3 separate regions of the Homo sapiens genome follow, and all the other regions are linked to region 1. Evidence: promoter capture Hi-C in 16 types of primary human blood cells and fetal thymus (Javierre and others, 2016). All regions are on one chromosome and are shown on one strand. The core of a region is centred on a gene start or on the middle of the fragment in contact, and the rest is flanking DNA. Distances in the headings are between cores, read along the strand shown. Region 1 holds the start of NDUFC2 (NADH:ubiquinone oxidoreductase subunit C2). Region 2 overlaps GAB2 (GRB2 associated binding protein 2). Region 3 overlaps RSF1 (remodeling and spacing factor 1).

Region 1 (3,534 bases), core at 523-3,022:
TCCCGAGTCCATGACCAGCGCCAGAGTTTTGGGTCCACAGATAAAACGGGTCTCCTCTGTCTCTACCAGACAGGGAAAGGAACCGAAATTAAGGGAAGGGAGAGACTGAAGGGTGGTGCCGAAATTGAAAGGAGAAAGAGGTTGAGGGATAGTGAAAGAGGTTGAAGAAGAGAGTAGAAAGAGGCCACTTACCCGATTTAAAATTGGTGAGATGTTCCTTGGGCTGGTCTGAGGACCCGAGGTCGTAGGTAGATCTTCCTCACGGAGCAAAGAGCGGGAGGACAGGGGATTGATCTCCCAAGGAAGGTCCCCCGATCCAAGTCATAGCACCAAATGTCAAATGCATCCGTGTGAAGAGACCACCAACAGGCTTTGTGTGAGCAACAAGGCTGTTTATTCACTTGGGTGCAAGTGGGCTGAGTCCGAAAAGAGAATCAATGAAGGGAGATGGGGAAGGGGTTGCTTTATAGGATTTAGGTAGGTAATGGAAAATTACAGTAAAAGGTGGTTGTTATCTATTGTTAGCAGGGGAGGGGGTCACAAGGTACATGATGGGGAGATCATAAGACTTATTGTCCAGAAGAAGAATGTCACAAGGATGGTTGATCAGTTAAGGTAGGGCAGGGACCAGTCACAATGGTGGAATGTTTGTTAATCAGTTAAGGCAGGAAGTGGCTGTTTTACTTCTTTTGTGGGTTTTTGGCTGCCCCAGACTTCTTGGCTCCCGCAGGCCATCTGGACGCATATGTGCAAGTCACAGGGGTTACAATGGTTGAGCTTCGGCTGAGAGGCCTGACAGCAGAGACTGGAAAATTGCTTAACAGAATTATAAATTCCTTCTTTCATTACTCAAACCTTTTTTTTTTTCTTTTTGAGACGAAGTTTCGCTCTTGTTGACCAGGCTGGAATGCAATGGTGCGATCTCGGCTCACTGCAACCTCCACCTCCCAGGTTCAAGCGATTCTCCCCCCTCAGCTTCCCGAGCAGCCGATTATGCTGCCTCAGCCTTCCCAGTAGCTGGGACTACAGGCACCCGCCACCACGCCCAGCTAATTTTTTGTATTTTTCGTAGAGATGGGATTTCACCATGTTGGCCAAGCTGGTCTTGAACTCCTGAAGTGATCCGCTCACTTCAGCCTCCCAAAGTGATGGGATTACAGGCGTGAGTGACGGCGCCTGGCCTCATTACTCAAACCTTTAGGGAACACCTCCTCACTCAGCCATGTGTAACGACGTGAAGACCCAGAGGTGAAACATTTTAGGGTGCTGCCTCCGAATCTGAATTTCAACAATAGACTAAAACGATCCAGTCCTGGGCTTCTCTAAATTCTTTTGTTGCTGGCCAGACCTTAATTTTAGGCTTTGGAGGGAGTGTCTATGCGAATGAACGACTGAAAACTCAGAAAACGAAAACTAGCTTTTATGGAATTTCAATTAATTACGTTTATCAAAACTACGCATCATGCCCATTTGTGGGTATTGGATGAAAAGATAAATCTTTCCAGAAGGGGCAGGGGAGGGAGAGGCAATTCTGGTTGGGGAAGTTGGGAGAAAAGAAAATCAGTATCTCCTAGTCTTCGCCCAGTTTGGCTCGTTTGGGGTACTCCTCGACCCCGCGTTACCAGGCCCGTGAATCCCACTCCCACCAGAGAATTAGCGCGGGCGGACGAGCAAAGTGAAACTTAGTAGCCCGGAACTTCGCGTGCCGGGTTCCCGCAGCAACACGTACCGGGAAGCGTTTGGGCGCTGCACCGCGCTGCGCCGTGCCCGTGAGTCCGGCGCGCAGAGGAGGAGGAGAAAGCTGACCGCTTAGGCCGGGGTAGTGGTCGTCGTGGTTTTCCTTGTAGTTCGTGGTCTGAGACCAGGCCTCAAGTGGAAACGGCGTCACCATGATCGCACGGCGGAACCCAGAACCCTTACGGTTTCTGCCGGATGAGGCCCGGAGCCTGCCCCCGCCCAAGCTGACCGACCCGCGGCTCCTCTACATCGGCTTCTTGGGCTACTGCTCCGGCCTGATTGATAACCTAATCCGGCGGAGGCCGATCGCGACGGCTGGTGAGTGCTGCGCGGCCGGGATCGGCTGGGAGGAGAAGGGGTCGTAGGGCTGCAGACTGGCCCGGCCGTAGGCCCCCCTGAGGTGCTCTGCTTTTCCGTGCCTTTTTGCCTAGCTGGCCCCATCTCGCCTTTCCGGGGAGTCCGCGCCCCATTAGCTCTTTAGAATCAAGCAGAGCCAGAGTGTCATTTGGCACTTGAAGAAACTGAGGTGCAGTGAAGCAGGAACTGAGTCTGTGAAGGACCCGAAACTACTCTCCTCAGTTCGTGTTGTGCTGTGTGCGCAAATGAGCCATGACTCCATGCCATGCACTACTCACACTGTGGGCATTATTGATAGCATTTCGGCCTTAAAACACTTTTAGGGATGTATTATTCACAACGAGGAAACCGAGCCTAACAGATTAACAGCAGCTTGCCCAAGGTCATATGGCTATTAAGTAGCAGAGCTTGGTTTTTTTTTTTTTTGACCTCTGAATGGATATTGGACACCAGTGCTTCTCAAACTTAATGTGCATACGAATAGCATAGGTGTCTTGTTAAAATTCGGATTCTGGGCTGCGCGAGGTGGCTCACACCTGTAATCCCAGCGCCTTGGGAGGCCGTGGCGGGCGGATCGCCTGAGCTCAGGAATTCGATACCAGTATGGGCAATAGGGCGAAAACCCGTCCCTACAAAAAAATACAAAAGTTAGCCGGGCGTGGTGGTGCACGCCTGTGGTCCCAGGCTGAGGGAGGCTGAGGCAGGAGGGTCGTTTGAGCCTGGAAGGCAGAGGTTGCAGTAAGCCGAGATTGCACCATTGCACTCCAACCTGTGCAACAAAGTGAGACCCTGTCTCAAAAAAAAAAAAAAAGCGGATCCTGATTCATGAGGTCTGGGGAGGAACTTGATGTTAACAACAAGCGCTCAAACACTGCTGCTGCTGGTCTGAGGACCACGGTTTGAATAGGAGGCTCTAAACCAGTGTGCTGTACTTCCCAGTAGTATGTCACTGGCTTCCTATCAGAGACACTGACTATTCTGATAATAACCACCACAGTAGCTTTGCTAAGCTCTATGGATTTCCAGAGGGAAAAGAGGAGAGGAACTTTGGAAGAGGGGTCTTTGAAGTTAACTTTGATTATCAGGCAGGACTGAGAGACAGACAGCTTTCTAGGCCCGTGGGGCTAGTGGGAGCTAATGGGGGCAAGGACCTCTGAATGGAGGGTGTTTGATGATTGAGTGAGTGTTCAGGTTTAGATAAAACTGCAAGGGAGATTTTAGCAGAGCATGGCAATTTATTTTCTAGGCAGTCAGGAACTTTGTAAGCTTTTGAGAGCTGCAAGGGTGCAGTGATGAGCTCTGTATTTTAAAAAGTCATCTTTGTCAGCAATGTGAGGCGTTGATTGGAGCCAAGAAGCACAATCAGGAAAAAAGCTCAGGCAATGGTTCAGGCAATTAGGAGTCACCACACTTGTACCTCTTTTGCCTTCTTACAGCTGT
Region 2 (3,534 bases), core at 475-2,974, 270 kb before region 1:
CTTGTTCTCTGCATGGTTTTGAGCTGACAGTTGCCTCGGTCAACAGCTGGATACAGTACCCAATTGTTTGCAGCAAAAGTCCTGCGAGTCTGTTTCCTCTAAAAAGCTTCTTCCACGACTTCCTTCCCCCATCCTCCCAGGACAGAAGTGGACACAAGGGGGAATGTTTCAGTTCCCCTGTCGGGTTGTGTGTCTTCCTCTCAAACCACTGTTCAAAATGTCTAGGGAATTTTTATTTTCCAAAGTTGCTTACCGGAAACAACTTGGCAGAGCATAGTTTGGGGAGGAGGCTTTAGTTCAATGAGCACAAAAGCACATGTTCCTGTGGTGAATTCTTAACGTGTGTGAAGGGGAAGCAAAGGAGCTTTAGTAAAATTGCAGTTCAGGCTAAGTCAGGAATGGAAATGAGGAACAACCAGAAAACATCACAGTTTGTTTTAGAGCATTTAGTTCCTAACTCTCAATGACACACACTCAGGCTTATGGCTGAATTTCAGATTATCCTTGTATATACTTTTTAGAAGTTTTTATTTGGTATCATAATTTATAGTGTAACAATGAAAAGTCGCCTGGCTTTATAACAGATTTCAGAAAGTGAAACTTGGTTTCTGAGGAATAAACAGGCAGCAGAGCAATCCTCAAAGAGGAAGTGCATGAGAAACTGAGGGTTTAGGGAGATTATATTTGGTTAGAAACGCTGGGCCTTTGTTAAAAGTTGAAAAACCTGATCACTCCAGTCTTTGGAGGTTCTGAGGGAGAGCATGTCTTGCCAGAGTCTCACGGATGATTAGAGTTAATCCCGGCACCCAGGCCTCTTTACTTTTCCTCTGCAGTGTGGGTTCCCCTCCTGAGCTACCCGCTAGAGCCTAGTTTCCCAGGGTTTCTCTCTCTGGTCTGTTTTTGCAGCTCAAGCCATGTTCTCCTTGATCTGTTGGCCAGGCTTCAGGGGAGATGGACTACAGCTGGTCTGAAATAGGAAGACGGTAAATTTACTTAAACTTTCAGCATGACCCATTTGCCTAACTTTTTTTTCAATGTGATGAATGAAAATATAGACAACAGAATGTTTCACAAGACAGCCAACTCAAAGAGAATAAGAATGAGGACGTGTGCAATTTGCTTTTACCTTTAAAAAGAAGCATATTACAGAACCTCTTGATTGTCTTTCTTTTTTTTTTCTTTTTTTCTTTTTTTTACCTCTGTCATCTGTGATCCATTCGCCTGTTCAGCCAAGATATTTTGGCATTTTTACTCTGGGAAACCAGTGGGTGGGTGAACATGGAGGAGCCAAAAGTTAACAAAATACCAGCAAATGCTGGAGCCAAGTGAGAGGATTCTCCTCTGCTCCAGAAGCAGAGGTGTACCCCACCTCCCACTCTCCCAAGCTGCTTTGAAAAAGGCTGCTAAAACTCACCGACTTAAAAAAAATTTTTTAAAAGAAAAAAAACTCCCTGACTTGAGAGGATTTCTCAGTCCTGATGAAGGAAATCTCTAGCAGCTCTTCTTGTCCCTAGGCTATCAGGGCTTTTCCTTTCTGAGGATGCCCTAAGCACTGTAGGGAATAATAGCATTCGAAGGTAAGTTTATCTGGTCTGATGCCAGCATACATTGTTGAATCCAAATCTACCATTTACCATCGGGGTGACTTTCAATGAGTTCTTTAAACTTTCTGAGCCTGTTGTCTCATCTGTAATAGAGATAATAGTGCCTACCTCATCAAAAGTGTTAGAATTAAGTAAGATGATTTGTAACTTAGTACCAGACACCTCATTAATAATCAAATGTTTTTTGCAATACCACTCATTTTCTCACCAACTTCTATACAGCTTCCTGTTTTCCCAGTGATCGTGAGATATGGGAGGTAGTAGCTTGCTAACTTGTTTCCAGTGGCAGCAGGAGTGGCAAAGGAAATTACTTTTTTCCTTATCAACTTCAAAGGATAATTTACACACAGTGAACTATATCTGTGTACATTTAATGAGTCTCATAGGTGTCTGTCCGTACTCATGAAACAAGTACTACATTGAAGATGTAGAACATTGGCATCATCCCCAAAAGATTCCTCTTGCCCCTTTGCAGTCTTTCCCTTCCTTTGCCCTTAGCCCCAGGCAAGCACTCCTCTGTTCTTTGTCACTCTAAATTAGTTTGCATTTTATAGGAGTACAGTATGTACACTTTTTGTGCAGCTTATTTCACTCAGCATAGTGATTTCTGGATGTGTCCATGTTGTTGCATGTATCCATGTTATTGCTGAGTAGTATTCCATTGTGTGGATATACCACCTATTGATGGACATTGGGTTCTTTCTTGTTTCTGGCTCTTTTAAATAAAGCTGATATGAACATTCACTTGGAAATCTTTCTGTGGAGCATACATTTTCATTTCTCCCAGGTATACCCAGCAGTTGAATGGCTCAGTCATATGGTAGATACGTGTTAAACTTTTTGAGAAACTTCCAAACTGTATTGTTTTACTTTCCTATCAACAGTGTATGTGATTTCCAGTTGCTTTACAATCTCAGAAGCACTTAGTGTGATCAGCCTTTTTAATTTTAGTCATTCTAATGGGTTTATAGGTCATGGTATTCATTGTGGTTTTCATTTGTTTCCCTGATGTCTAGTGATGTTGAGCACCATGTGCCAACTGGCATTTTGTATACTATCTTCTTTTGTCTAGTATCTGTTCAAATCTTTTGCCCATTTAAAAAATTGTGTCATTTATCTTCTTACTGAGTTGTACAAGTTCCTTTTATGATCTGGATACCAGTTCTTTGTAAGATAGAAATATATTAAACATTTCCTTCAATCTGTGAAAACATGTGAATACAACTGATCCTTGAACAAAATGGGCTTGAACTGCATGGGTCCATTTATACTTGGATTCTTTTCAGTAAAAGTGACACTGAGTGTGCTTGCCTCTCCTGCCTCCCCTTCCTCCCCTTCTACCTCTTCTGCTTCTGTCACTGCTGAGACAGCAAGTCTAACCTCTTCTTTTCCTCTTTCTCCTCAGCCTACTCAATGTCAAGATGAAGATAAAGACCTTTATGATGATCCACTTCCACTTAATCAATACTAAATACATTTTAATCTTCCTTATGATTTTTTTCTCTATCTTTACTGTAAAAATGCAATATATAATATATAACATACTAAGTATGTGTTATTCCACTGTTTATAGTAGTTAAGTTTCAGGGGAGTCAAAAGTTGTACATGGATTTTTGACTGCATGGGAGGGAGCCATCCCCTAACCCCCATGTTGTTCAAGGTTCAACTGTATGTTCTCCCAGTTTGTGTCATGCCCTTTCCTTCTCTTAATTGTATCATTTGAGGAACAAAAGCTTTGAATTTTGATGAAGCTTAGTTTTCAGTTTTTCTTTTATGATTTATGCTTTTTGTTTACTTAAAGGTCACAAAGATTTTTCTCCTATGTTTTCTTGTAGGAGATGTTTTAGCTTTTACATTTAGGTCTATAATCCAGTTCAAGTTAATGTTTGTATATGGTGTGAAGCAAGGGTTAACATGGGGATTATCTTTT
Region 3 (3,534 bases), core at 759-3,258, 270 kb after region 1:
TGACTTGCACAGTCCTTCTGAGATTGTTAAGCAGATTGCTTCCATCAGTTTGAGCCGGGAGTTGAGGTGAAAGTCACCATTGCAGATGCTTAAGTCAACTATTTTAATAAATTGATTACCAGTTGTTAAAAAAAAATTATAAATGGCAGACTTGATCCCATTCATCATTAGACTACTTTCATGTTTTGCTCAGAATTAAGTAAGTTTTAATATTCATTTAAAAATACTTATCAAATAAATTTGGTTTCTCTCAAAGTAAGTTGTGTAAGATATTCTGATTTTAGCAAATTATTTCATAATTTGTGCCTTTCTGTTAATAAACAGAAGAAGCAGGGATGAGGTGGTGGGGAATTTGCAGTGTTTATTTAATCTTACCAGTTTAGAGGCTGGACAAAGAGCAAGAATTAAAAGTTATGCTTAGAATGTTTGTCCAAAATTAAGGTGATCTTTTCAGTGTAAGAACATGAGTTGTGAGGGCACAGCAAGCAGAAACTACACCAGACTGATTTTTTTTTTTTTTTTTTTTTGAGATGGAGCTCTGTCACCCAGGCTAGAGTGTAGTAGTGCGATCCCAGCTCACTGCAACCTCTGCCTCCTGGGTTCAAGTGATTCTCCTGCTTCAGCCTCCTGAGTAGCTGGGACTACAGGTGCCCGCCACCACGCCCAGCTAATTTTTTTGCATTCTTAGTAGAGATGGGGTTTCGCCATGTTGGCCAGGCTGGTCTCAAAAACTCCTGACCTCAAGTGATCTGCCTGCCCCGGCCTCCCAAAGTGCTGGGATTACAGGCATGAGCCACCACATCCAGCCCAAACTGATTTTAAGAAAGAAGAGCATGAGGGCAAAACTTGACAGCAGACAGACCAGGCTTCAGCCTCCTGTAGTTGAACAAGGATTGCTTGAAGAGCAACATGAAGTATATAATGTATATATGGCTCATGTAAGCAAGAGTTCCTCCAGAAAGCTTTCGTAGTGGAGGTTGAGTCTGTATTTAATTTTAGACTCTAAGCTTTATTCTCCAGTATTTGTACATGTTTATCTTAATCATTTTCTGAATAGTAGGATTATACAGTTTTTTCCCTTTGGTTTTTCTTATATTTTTTCACATTTCATTTTCTATGTTAATTGTGCATTTCTTTGATAATCACCAAAAAACTATTTAAAACTAGATTTCTAAAGAGGCTTTTTAAAAGGAAAATTGAATTTCTGCTTGTATTTATGTACTCTTATTTTTATAGACAGGGTCTCACTCTGTCACCCAGGCTGGAGTGCAGTGGCTTGTTCTCTGCTGACTGCAACCTCTACCTCCCAGACTCAGGCGATCCTCCCATTTCAGCCTCTCAAGTTGCTGGGGACTACAGGCATGTGCCACCACACCCAGCTAAAAATTTTTTGTATTTTTAGTAGAGACAGAGTTTCATTATGTTGCCCAGGCTGGTCTCAAACTCCTGGGCTCAAGCAATCCACCTGACTCAGCCTCCCCAAGTGCTGGGATTACAGGCGTGAGCCACCAAGCTCAGCCTATTTATTTATTCTTAATCTTGAATTACCTCTTAAATGAATGTTACTATCATCTACCCAAGTCACTCAGATCAGAAACCAAGGAGGCATCCTAGACCTTAGCCTCTGACACTTTCTTTGATACCAAGTTATATTGAGTCTGTTTATCCCCTTTTATATTCAACCTTGCTTTTCTGTTCTCATTGCTAGTTTTAATCACGCCAAACTGCTTTTACATCTCTGAAGATGTGAAAGGTTGTTTTACATTTATGCTTTTTCTTCGTCCTCCTGCCTCTGAGTCGAATATACCATCCCCATCTTCCTTCCCTTGCCTGCTCACTGTACCCGTCATTAGTCTGCTCTTTAAGCATCAAATGCTCTGTGGAAAATTTCCTTCTTTCTGTCTCTCAAGTTAAATTAACCACTTCAATCTCCTTACCCTGCACGTACACTTTGTAGATTTTATGCCACAGTACTCATAACACTTTTTGCAGTTACTGCCTAGCCTACAAGATGGTAAACTCTTTGAGGACAGGGTTTCTTACTTTATTTTATCACCAGCAATTGGTGGGTAATAGCAAATATGTAGTAAATGTTTGTGGAATTAATAGTTTTCCTCAACTTACTATAGGACCATGTTCTGCTCTAAAACTTTGAAGTTAAAGCCTAGTCTGTGATAGCTTAGTACAGTGGTGGGCAATCTACAGCCTGTCCTCTCTATCTTTGTAAATAAGGTTTTACTGGTATACAGCCATGTTCATTTGTTTACATTCTGTTGTCTGTAGCTGCTTTCACACAACTGTGGCAGAGTTGAGTGATGGTCACAGAGAACATATAACTTCAAAACCTAAAGTATTGGGCTGGGTATGGTGGCTCATACTGCAATCCAAGCACTTTCGGAGGATTGTCTGAGTCCCAGAGGTTGAGGCTGATCATGCCACTGCACTCCAGCCTGGGTGAAACAGCAAGACCCTGTCTCAGAAAAAAACAAAACCCAAAACCTGAAGAACTTATTATCTGTCTAGCCCTTTACAGAAAAAAATTTACTGATCTTTATTCCAGTGTATGAAGATGGAAGTCTTATCAGATGATGATCTCTGTTTTTGAAAATACATTTAGAACCAGTATAATACAAATTTCCAGCCTCGCCAACATGGTGAAACCTGGTCTCTATTAAAAATACAAATTAGTTGGATGTGGTGGGATACACCTGTAATCCCAGCTACCTAGGAGGCTGCCACACAACAATTGCTTGAACCCAGGAGGCAGAGATTACAGTGAGCCATGATTATGCCATTGCACTCCAATCTGGGCAACAGAGGGAGACTCCACCCATCTCCCCCCCAAAAAATAAAAATAAAAAGGAACCAATATAATACAAATTAAATGCCTAGAATGTCCTGTGAATGAAACTTAGTGGAACAGTAGTCTCCCCAGTATTGATCTAATTTTACATCCAACTGTTTTAGTATTAATTACTCCTCTTGGGTTAGGTGAGTCTAAAAGCTTTTTTGTTAACAAGGTGATGACATTATATTGAACTAAATTTCTTTCATTCAAGAGTAGCCATGGCTACCTCTGCCTAATTGTCATAAGGCAATGCCAGGATGGGAGCCATGTGACATGGTAATTGGTAGTGAGGGTAAGAGTTGTTGTAACATTGCTGCTATACTGGCCTCAAAGTCTTATCCAAGTGGACTGATTAGGGGAGGGTAAGGTTGGATGAATGGTGATGCCGTGTACTCAGATGGGAAAGGATGTAGTTATTAAAGGTAGAACTTAAAAGATTTACTTAGGTTACTTAGAGGACACAGGACTGGGAAAGAATGTACTAGATAATAGCTTACTAGTAAGTGGGATTAAATGCCTTGGTCATCAGTGTATTTTGCAGCAAAAGTGCAGTACTGGTTATGAAGCTTAGGCATGTGTTATGCTAGATATCTCAGGGAGTTTGATACTTACTCTTTTCCTTTTGTCCTTAGCATCTTCACAGTTGGCTCTGCAAATAAATATAATTGCCACTTCTTCAATGTTTA

What was found. The method cuts DNA at HindIII sites, captures the fragments that hold promoters and counts their contacts. A CHiCAGO score of 5 or more calls a contact.
Region 2: a contact is called between a fragment that was not itself captured here and the fragment with the promoter of NDUFC2 in region 1, in 3 of 17 cell types (M2 macrophages, non-activated CD4 T cells and naive CD8 T cells). The highest score is 5.9, in M2 macrophages.
Region 3: a contact is called between a fragment that was not itself captured here and the fragment with the promoter of NDUFC2 in region 1, in 1 of 17 cell types (total CD8 T cells). The highest score is 5.5, in total CD8 T cells.

What each region holds. Positions count from the first base shown.
Region 1 is chr11:78,078,100-78,081,633 of GRCh38, reverse strand. NDUFC2 (NADH:ubiquinone oxidoreductase subunit C2) reads left to right here and starts at 1,772. Exons shown (of 3, transcript NM_004549.6): 1 at 1,772-2,055. The coding sequence starts at 1,890. It overlaps NDUFC2-KCTD14 (NDUFC2-KCTD14 readthrough), which reads left to right and starts at 1,772. Exons shown (of 3, transcript NM_001203262.2): 1 at 1,772-2,055. The coding sequence starts at 1,890. LOC105369401 (a long non-coding RNA gene) reads right to left here and starts at 439. Exons shown (of 3, transcript XR_950342.2): 1 at 193-439. RefSeq lists a silencer at 1,600-1,789 and an enhancer at 1,993-2,052. The HindIII fragment of the contact is 4,740 bases long and covers 1-3,362 here.
Region 2 is chr11:78,347,584-78,351,117 of GRCh38, reverse strand. All of the region lies in intron 1 of GAB2 (GRB2 associated binding protein 2), which reads left to right. Among named protein-coding and RNA genes, the nearest start is that of GAB2, 68 kb to the left of the region's middle. The HindIII fragment of the contact is 3,231 bases long and covers 109-3,339 here.
Region 3 is chr11:77,809,878-77,813,411 of GRCh38, reverse strand. The region is part of intron 1 of RSF1 (remodeling and spacing factor 1); the gene reads left to right. It also overlaps the pseudogene RPS20P27. Among named protein-coding and RNA genes, the nearest start is that of RSF1, 9.1 kb to the left of the region's middle. The HindIII fragment of the contact is 1,997 bases long and covers 1,010-3,006 here.